Regions from separate parts of the Homo sapiens genome. Here region 1 is linked to region 2. The links are contacts of gene promoters, found by promoter capture Hi-C in blood cells and fetal thymus (Javierre and others, 2016). All regions are on one chromosome and are shown on one strand. The core of a region is centred on a gene start or on the middle of the fragment in contact, and the rest is flanking DNA. Distances in the headings are between cores, read along the strand shown.

Region 1 (4,057 bases), core at 1,558-4,057, 270 kb before region 2:
CTTATGGGCCACATGCTGTGTCTGTTTCATATTCTGCTCCTTTTTTATTTTTATTTTTTTTAAGAAAAGACACCCTTTAAACATATAAAAACCATTCTGAGCAACAGGCTGGTGCTAAAAACAGGTCATGGTAACCATTGGCTCTAGGGTTGTAGTTTACTGTTGATATAGATTGTACACTGATAAGCCAAAATACAAACCTAATGAAACTGACATACTTAAGGAACTTTACTCTTTGTTAGCAATCATTGTTAATATTTATTGAATGGTGACTACGTGGGAAATGCTGTTCCAAGTGTGATAGATATATTAACTTACTTAATCCTCACACCCACTCTAATTTCCTAAGTACTATTGTCAGACTCATTTTACAGACAGGAAAAGCAAGGCATAGAGAAGGTAAGTAACTTTTCCGAGGTCACATGGCTATTAAGTAGCAGAGCTGTGATTCAAATATAAGCGGTTTGGCACCAGATCCTGTGCACTTAACCGCTTGCATCTCGGTTGGGAGCACTGACTGGTTCAGCTATTGGGAGGGAAGAAAGGGGATGGGGAAGCCACATAACCCCTAGGAGATTCTGTAATAAATATGCTTCAGAGCCATTCACCTTGAAGCTGAGGAGGCATGGAAGCAGGCCACCTGTGTTCTGTACAGCATCACCAGGCTGGAAATCTGCCATGGCTTTCCTTCACGCCATCACAAGAGGATACAGATGAGGCTGCAGAGGCATCTTGATTTGAGAAAAGCATTTGACTGGATCTCATTAAATTTTAATCATTAACTGAATTCAAAATAAATTGAAAACTGGTTGACAGAGCACCAACAAAGGGTGATGATAAATGGTGATGCATCTAGAGGGGAGCTATCTTCCAGGGGACAACTCTAAGGCAAGGACGGATGGGATTTAATGAAGGTGTTATGTCCCCAGAAGAAGACAAATAGCACAGCAAGGAACAGAGGAAGGACAGGAGTGAGCAGCCTGAGTAATTAATAAACCATATTAACAGCTCCTCCATAATCAGGCCTTGGTGATCACAACTGCTTGGATTTTTTCTTAAGCTTTCTTTGAGTCAGGAATAGGTTTGAAGCGTCCTAGAGACACACAGCATGAATATTTCAGGTGGACATTAAAAAGAAATCTATAAATTTACAGCTGGGAGGATCCTGAGATCTACTTCGGATCAGAAACTTTCAATTACAAGATTCCCAAGGCCTTACTTCATTCCCCAGAGAGTAATCTTTTTAATAAATGTCCAAAAGTCATGGATTTAAAAAAAAATCTTTAAACTCATTAATGTCCTTTGTTTCCTGCCCAAATGCATGCAAACTTTCATAACACTGGTTTGCTGAGTGGAAGGTTGGTTTTGAGTGAACTGTTTGGCTCAGATTCAAACTCCAATGAACAAATACTTCCAAGTTTACTTGCTGAATTTCCCATACAGAGAAGTTCTTCCACTGGGCTTGCCAGAGGATTTGAAACAGTGGTGAGCCCTGGAAGGAAGGGAATATTTACTGGCCCTTGGACATAAACCCAGCACAGTAAGACTCACATCAGGCTGAAGGCAGTGCAGTATGAACCGACCTGATTTGAGGAAGTTTGCTCTGGGACTCCTCTGAGCTACTAAATGAGGAGGAGAAGGACTAATGGGAACACACTGACTCCATCACATTAGAAGTTATAATAAACATTTAGAGAACAACCTCAAACCAGCCCATGTTTTTTTTTTTTTTCTGTCGTTGTCATTGTTTTGGTTTTTGTTTTTTTGTTTCTTCAGATAAGATGGTTTCTCTAAGCACATGTGTGATCCCTAATTCAGCCACAGCCACGGAGTGAAGGAGAGGAAGGGGTAGAAAGGAAAAACCAAGAGAGGAAGAGGAAGGGAGAGAAAGGAAGGAAGGAGAACGGAAGAGAAGTAAGGAAAGTGGGGAAACGCTGAAGGATTTTTTTGTATTTGCCTTTTATTGGTGTAGGAGAGACACTTATTTACTTGTAATTTGTATGTAGTGCTGGGTATGAGAAGGGGCAGTTGGAAGAGAAGGGAAAGAATGAATATAGGTGAAAGGTAAGAGTGTCATAGGGTAAGCTGGGAGGCCAGGAAGAGTTTGGACAGACAGCTCAGAGTAGGAAGAGAGTTCAGAGCGGGGAGGGAGACCTGTTGACTCTGGGAAGGGGAAAGGGAAAAAACACTGGCATCCTGACTGCAGGGAAACAATGAGGCAGCGGAGAGCAAGTATCCCTCATTGCTGAGGGAGCTGCCAAGACCCCAGGCAGCCTCAGTCTGTGGGGTGCGGCCTGTGGGGTGCGAGGAGAGGGGCACAGGCTGGGAGCTCCGGTCAGTCCTGGCCCTCCTAAAGGGCTTGAGTTCAGCTGCCTTATCAGGGAACCAAGCCAAACCAGCACAGACCTAAGGATCACCCCATGGATGGAAGCCCACCCTTCTTCAGCCAGTCTACAACTCCTGGTATCCGGGAAGGTCTGTGCACACACAAGGTGTGCACACACACACACACACACACACACACAAGGCGTGCACACACAGCTACAGAGTGAGCTGAGTAGTCACAGCCAAGCACATGTGTGCTTCTAGGAGGCCTGCTGGGCACGGGAGGCAAAGACCATAAGTGGGAGAAAGGACAGCCTGAGTTTCATGAACTAAAAATATCTTGGTGACAACGCATTGGGAAGAAACAGGAGAGGCCCGGGGGGCAGCTTCTTGATTCCAGTCCTCAGACACTTTCTCATGGAAAAATCCTTCAGACTGCAGGATTGTTTTGATAAGGAAATGTGATCAAACATTAGGGGTCATTTCATTGGATCTGAAAGGAATTTAAAGTTGAATATGCCTCATCTGTGTTCACTCTTTTTTTTCTGCAGCAGTTGCCTGCAATTCATATATGTTTTTAGAAGCTAATTTAAAATTGCCTGCAGAAGAAAAATGATTTGAATTCAGGATATTCCTGAGATTTCCATTCTACAACGTGTAAAACAAAGATTTCATTTAGACAAACTACCCCACCATAATCTTTCTGAATGCCTGTTGAAGAATGCCTGCAGATATGACTGTCTTCTCCTCTTCTTTTTCTTTTCAGAGCATTTGAAAGTCACTAACTCCTTAATCCCAGGAGAAGCAGGCTTTAACATTTCCTGTCTCTACACCTTCCAAAAATGAGTAACCCTGAGTTAAGAACCTTTCTATCCGACATGTTGGTACATTACTCAGACCTCACTTCTGTTTAACCCACCCCATGCAAGGAACAGAGCAGAGTAACTACATTATCCATCTTTTGATGCTCCATCATGGAGTGACTGGTAGCTGCAGCAGCAGATTAAGAATGACTGTGGTGTGTGGCCTTTAAGGATTAGAGCGAGGCTGGCAAGTGCACAACAGTTAGCCTGCTTTCAGATAATGGTGCATCGTTGTTTGAAAATAAAATCAGGAACTCATTGCAGGTGAAATATCTTGAAATTCCTGTCCTTTCATCCCAGGGGAATAGAGAGAAATGCCTAAAAACATGACACGGACTACACCAGGACATCCCACAGAAACCAAAAGTCCTGCACCAGCCCATCCCAGTCAGCTAGGGCCTGTTTGAACTGTATTGATGGCAAGTAATTGCCAAAAAGAAACAATGACAATTTTTTTTTAAGTCACGGTCTGGAAAAAGTTAAGGATTCTGTGTATCCGCCATCTAATAATGTCTCTAATCACAGTCATCACCCTTACATGGTATTAGGATGTGTTTCATAGTTTCCCTTCCCCTCCCATTAAAGGCCCCACACACAGTGACTGGTCCAGCTGAGGAGTGGTTTCCAGGTCCAGCTACAGCAGTAACTCTGGCTTCTGGAGCTGGGCTTGTCTGCCAGTTCTCTGGCCTGCCTTGACTCTGTGGACAATAGCACAGACTATCCTTCCTGGGTAACCCAAATGGGACATGAACTAATTCGAGAAACTCCCTGTTTTCTCCTATTTGGCTAGAGCCAGTAATAAGGCCTCAATTCCAGGCAGCCCTCCCGCAGAGACACGTGTCTCCCAGCCTTTCGCCCTGACTGCTGCT
Region 2 (4,314 bases), core at 1,681-4,180:
AAATGAAACAGAATACCCGCTAAGATAAAACTTGGTAGGAAACAAGATAAGTAAGATAAGGTTCCTTTTATCAATGTGCTGACCAATTAATGGTGGAAATAGACTCATGCGAAACATAATGCCTGCTGCCAAAGTTTGAAACCAAAACATGATGATTTGTTTGGAAAGGAGAAGATGGAAACGGCTTCACAGAGGAGATGACATTTGAGCTGGGCCCCAAAGGTTAAAAAGGACTTCGAGCAAGTCAGATGGGGTTGGAGATTCCAGACCCAGGAGAAAGCAGAGTGTGCATTTGCTCACATTCAACCTTATCATTAAGTCTCTTAAACTTGGTCAACAGAGTGTGAGTTTATGTGCTCTGGCTTTCCTTCCTGGGTCTGGCATCAAACAAACGACCCTTTGTTTTTACAGTACACTCATTAACCCTATTGCTTTTTTTATCGTAAAAAGTTCCACGATGAATGTTCTTAAAAAGTGTGTAAGTAAATATTTAATGAATCATAACTCTTTTCTAATAAAATTACTGAAGACTAAACCTACAGTTCTGTTACTTATAAAAATAGTCGAGGAGCCATACTTTTAGGAAAGAACAGGTTCAACTTAAGTTTTGACAATATCGATTAAGCATGTAATAGTCACTGGCTTACAAAACGGAACATTAAGCCCCCAGATTTACATTAACATTTCTTCCTTAAAGGGAACATCAAATGGTTTAGACTTCAGTCAAGATTCTCTACAGCCCCAGTTCATAGCCAAGTGGCCTCAAAGCCTCAGATAGTTAAACCACTTCCTCCAAAAGTCTGTGAGTCCCTTCATCTGAATACAGGGTACCCATGGAGCAGGGACTGGGGAAGAAGACAGTACATAGGGTGGAAAGTATTGCAGTTGCTTGGGTGGTGAGAAAGGAAGTAGGCGTCCCAAGACTACCTTGAAGCAGGCAAGAGGCAGTCTGCAGTGGTCTTCCAAATGCTAACTCTAGACCGTTTTATCCACGTCCCCAGGTATTTACTTCAATAAAAGGGTAAAACAACATCACTGGGCAGACAGGATTTCATTTCAAAAGACTTCAGTACAGTGCCCTCTTAGACTTGAGAGAAGAAGCCATTCAGGCTGCCTCCCTCTTATCAAATAACAATTTAATTCTGATTCAGAAACAAAATTCTTGTGACCCCCACACCAATCTACTCTACCCCAGCTCTTAGTACTTGTTCCCAAAAGGACAGGGGAAAGAACGAGGGGATGGGGAGGCTACCTTAAAAGTAAAGCAACTCTTAAGACTGCTGGGATAACTGTTCCCTTAAATCTAAGAAACACTGCAGCTGCCAGTCAACACTACCGGTCTCTGAACACAGCAAAATGCCGACACCTGCCACCCGGCATCCGGGGGTTCTTTTATTTTTTGGTAAATGTGGCAGGAAAGACTCAGAGAGATCAACTGCTTCATGGGAAAGAAAGGGAAGCCCCAGGGAAGAGAGACAAGAAGCATCGTGCCTATCCTAGGGTACTTTGTGTGTCTCCTCTCTATGCACTGAAAGGGCTCTTTGTGTCACACTCACACTCACACACCCGGCGAGTCTGTGTGATTTATTGGGGGAAGGAGGGGCAAGAAGGGTGATTTTATTATCCCTCTTCCCAGTGAGTCCCAGCACATCTCTGCTGGGCCCAAGCTCGGTGGCCTCCTTCTGGCCCAGTCCCCTCCGCCTGTGGCCGCAGAGATAACAGAGGGGAGGAGCCCAAACAAAAACAGCCATGGATCTAGGGAAGTAGAGAGGAAATCCAGCGAGGGAGCCGGAAAGGAAGGAGAAAAGAGCTGGAGGGAGCAGAGGGGTGGGGGACAGAGGAAGAGGAGGGAAGGCTCCAGCACAGGGGAAAGGGGAAGGGTGGGTGGGTGGTGGCACAGGAAGAGTGAAGGGGAGGATGGGGGAAGTGCAAGGGAGGTGCCAGAAATAGGCAGGAGGATGGGTTGGAGAAGGCGACCGCCGCCGAGGGAGGAGGCCGAGAGGTGGAGGAGTGGGGCAGGGGTTGGGTGGGGAGGGAAGCAGCACGGGGCATCAATTATTAAGTGATTACATCATCCCTGACATTAAAACAACACACACAGCCCCAGTCCCCGCGGGGGGCCCCAAAAGGAGGGCGGGGGCGGAGTCTGGGCCAGCCTCGCCCCCAAGCCAATTCCCATTTTCACCCGGCGCCCGCTTGCGGGCGAGGAAATGGGGTCCCCATCCCCGCGCTGCCTCGGGGCCGCACCCCGCAGGGGTGTCCTCCGGTGCAACCGCGGGAAGACCCCAAGCACCGACTCCCCGGCAGCCCCGCGGAGCGCCCTGGCGGCCAAGGGACCGCAGCACCGGGCCCTGCGGCGGGGGCGGCGTGCGCGGGGGCGCCGGCGGCCGGGCTTCTCCGCAGCATCCCCGAGGCCTCCCGCGACGCATCCCCGCCGCCTGCTTACCTGCGCGGCGCTGAGGCTCCGGAGCCCACTCACATGGTCCTCTCCCCGCCCTCCTCCGGCGCGGCCGAGGCGGCTCCGGGGGGTCCCCGGCGGGCCCGGGAGCCGGTGGGCCTTCCGAGAGCACCGAGGGGGCGGCGCCGGGGTGTCCCCGGCCCGGCGGCCGAATCCCTCCCTGGCGCGGGCGGCGGCCGCCGGGCGGTGCGGCGCGGGCGGCGGCTTTGTGTGCGCCCGGGCGGTCCTCGGTGCGCTGGGAGAAGCGCGGCGCGCCCGGGCGGGAGAGGACGCGCCGCTCGCACAACAACCTCGCCTCTACTCTCGCCGCCGGGCGGCGGGCGGGTCTCGAAGGCCTTCGGCTCGCGGCGACCCCTCCTCCTCGCCCGCGGCAGCCCCCTCCTCGCCGGCTCCGCTCCTGACAGATGGCGCAACTGCAACGACGCGCCGCCGCCACCAGCGCGGCTGCTCGCTGCTACTCTTGCTGATGCTCTGCCCCTCCAGCTCCGGAGGGGAGCGAGGAGGGGGCGGGGCGCGCCTCGAGAGTGACAGGCCCGGCTGCCCTATCAAAGAGCCCCTTGGGAGCTGCGAGCCGCAACCATTGGCGCCTGGGGCGTGGGCGGGACGGCAGTAGGTGGGGCCGCCGAGTGGGTTGAGCGTTACTGTGGCAGCGGGCATCCCAGGGTGCGTGCGGTGCAGGGTGTGCAAGAAAATGCGAGGTTGGAGGAGGAGGTCTGTGTGTTTTTAAGGATTGTGTGGAGTTGTGAGGTGGCGGAGTAGGGCGGGAGAAAGAGCGGAGAGTGTGAACTGCAGTTTCCGCTTTGCGGAAGGTTGCAGCTGCTGCTGCAGATTGGCACCTGCCATTCCCCCAAAACCATGGGAAACTGCCTCGAGACAGGGCTATCTTGCCTTTCTGGTGTCTTTTCATTTGAGGGTGAGAGGATGAAATGGAAAATTGGGCGGTGATAGCAGCGTTTTCTTTGATCAAACTGAAAAGAGTACGGAGCAAAGTAGAATCCTGTCCTGAAACGTGGAAACGCACAACAAATAACAATGAGGAGGAGAAGGAGATTAGGATCATTTTATCAGTCCCCTATTTCTGCGGACACTCATTTATATTTTTTTTCTAGCAAAAGTCTGGAGGAAGTATTACTGAAATAGGGGGAGGGGCCAAGCGGCGACTAAGGAACCTGAAATGACAGAGATTTGTTCGTACATTCCCCGCCCCACCCCCAAAAAACCTCGTTTAATTGTAGTCATTGGTTGTCTTTGGTTTCTCATAACATTCAAACTTCTCATGTTTTTTTCCCCTTCACTGAATCTGAGCTTTTGCTCATATTTCCCTTGATGAAATAATTGCCGGTTTAGTATACAGTTGGGAGTGCATCGGTCTTTATTTCCTATCCAGCTTTTCTATGGCAGGATGTAACTTCATAAAAAGAAACACTTTGGCTTCCTGATTTTCTTTATAGGTAATTCCTGTTTACTGAAAGTTCTGCTTTAAGGCATACTCAGAATCGCTCTCCTTAATGATTTTGGCAAGAACCCTACCTTCCCCCTCAGCAAATCTAATGTTCTAAGAAATTATAAGTGAATCAGCTTCTGCTTCTGTGCTCAAAATCTATAATATTGCCTTTCCGGCCCACTACTTGTTTTTACTGTAGTTTAAAAAAATCTGTCCCTTTTGCTGACTTTTTTCTTTTTGTACACACTACTTTTTAAGAAAAGTTGCTAACATTTATTAAATGATCTGCATCCTATGGAGGAGGAAACTGAGGAAAAGAAAAGTTAAGTAACTAACTCAAGGTGACAGTATACAGAGGTTACTGGATTTTTTTCCTTTTCCTTAAACAAAATGACAAATTAAACCATGTTTA

The links. Contacts are between HindIII fragments. The CHiCAGO score rates a contact against its expected background, and 5 or more counts as called.
Region 1: a fragment that was not itself captured here is called in contact with the fragment with the promoter of FYN in region 2 in 3 of 17 cell types (non-activated CD4 T cells, total CD8 T cells and total CD4 T cells); the score reaches 7.9 in non-activated CD4 T cells.

The regions. Positions count from the first base shown.
Region 1 is chr6:111,600,588-111,604,644 of GRCh38, forward strand. All of the region lies in intron 1 of TRAF3IP2 (TRAF3 interacting protein 2), which reads right to left. It also overlaps TRAF3IP2-AS1. Among named protein-coding and RNA genes, the nearest start is that of TRAF3IP2, 3.3 kb to the right of the region's middle. The HindIII fragment of the contact is 3,499 bases long and covers 1,059-4,057 here.
Region 2 is chr6:111,870,522-111,874,835 of GRCh38, forward strand. FYN (FYN proto-oncogene, Src family tyrosine kinase) reads right to left here and starts at 2,931. Exons shown (of 14, transcript NM_002037.5): 1 at 2,447-2,931. LOC102724646 (a long non-coding RNA gene) reads left to right here and starts at 2,931. Exons shown (of 3, transcript NR_168402.1): 1 at 2,931-3,169. RefSeq lists silencers at 2,051-2,450, 2,601-2,850, 2,971-3,060 and an enhancer at 2,503-3,002. The HindIII fragment of the contact is 15,284 bases long and covers 1-4,314 here.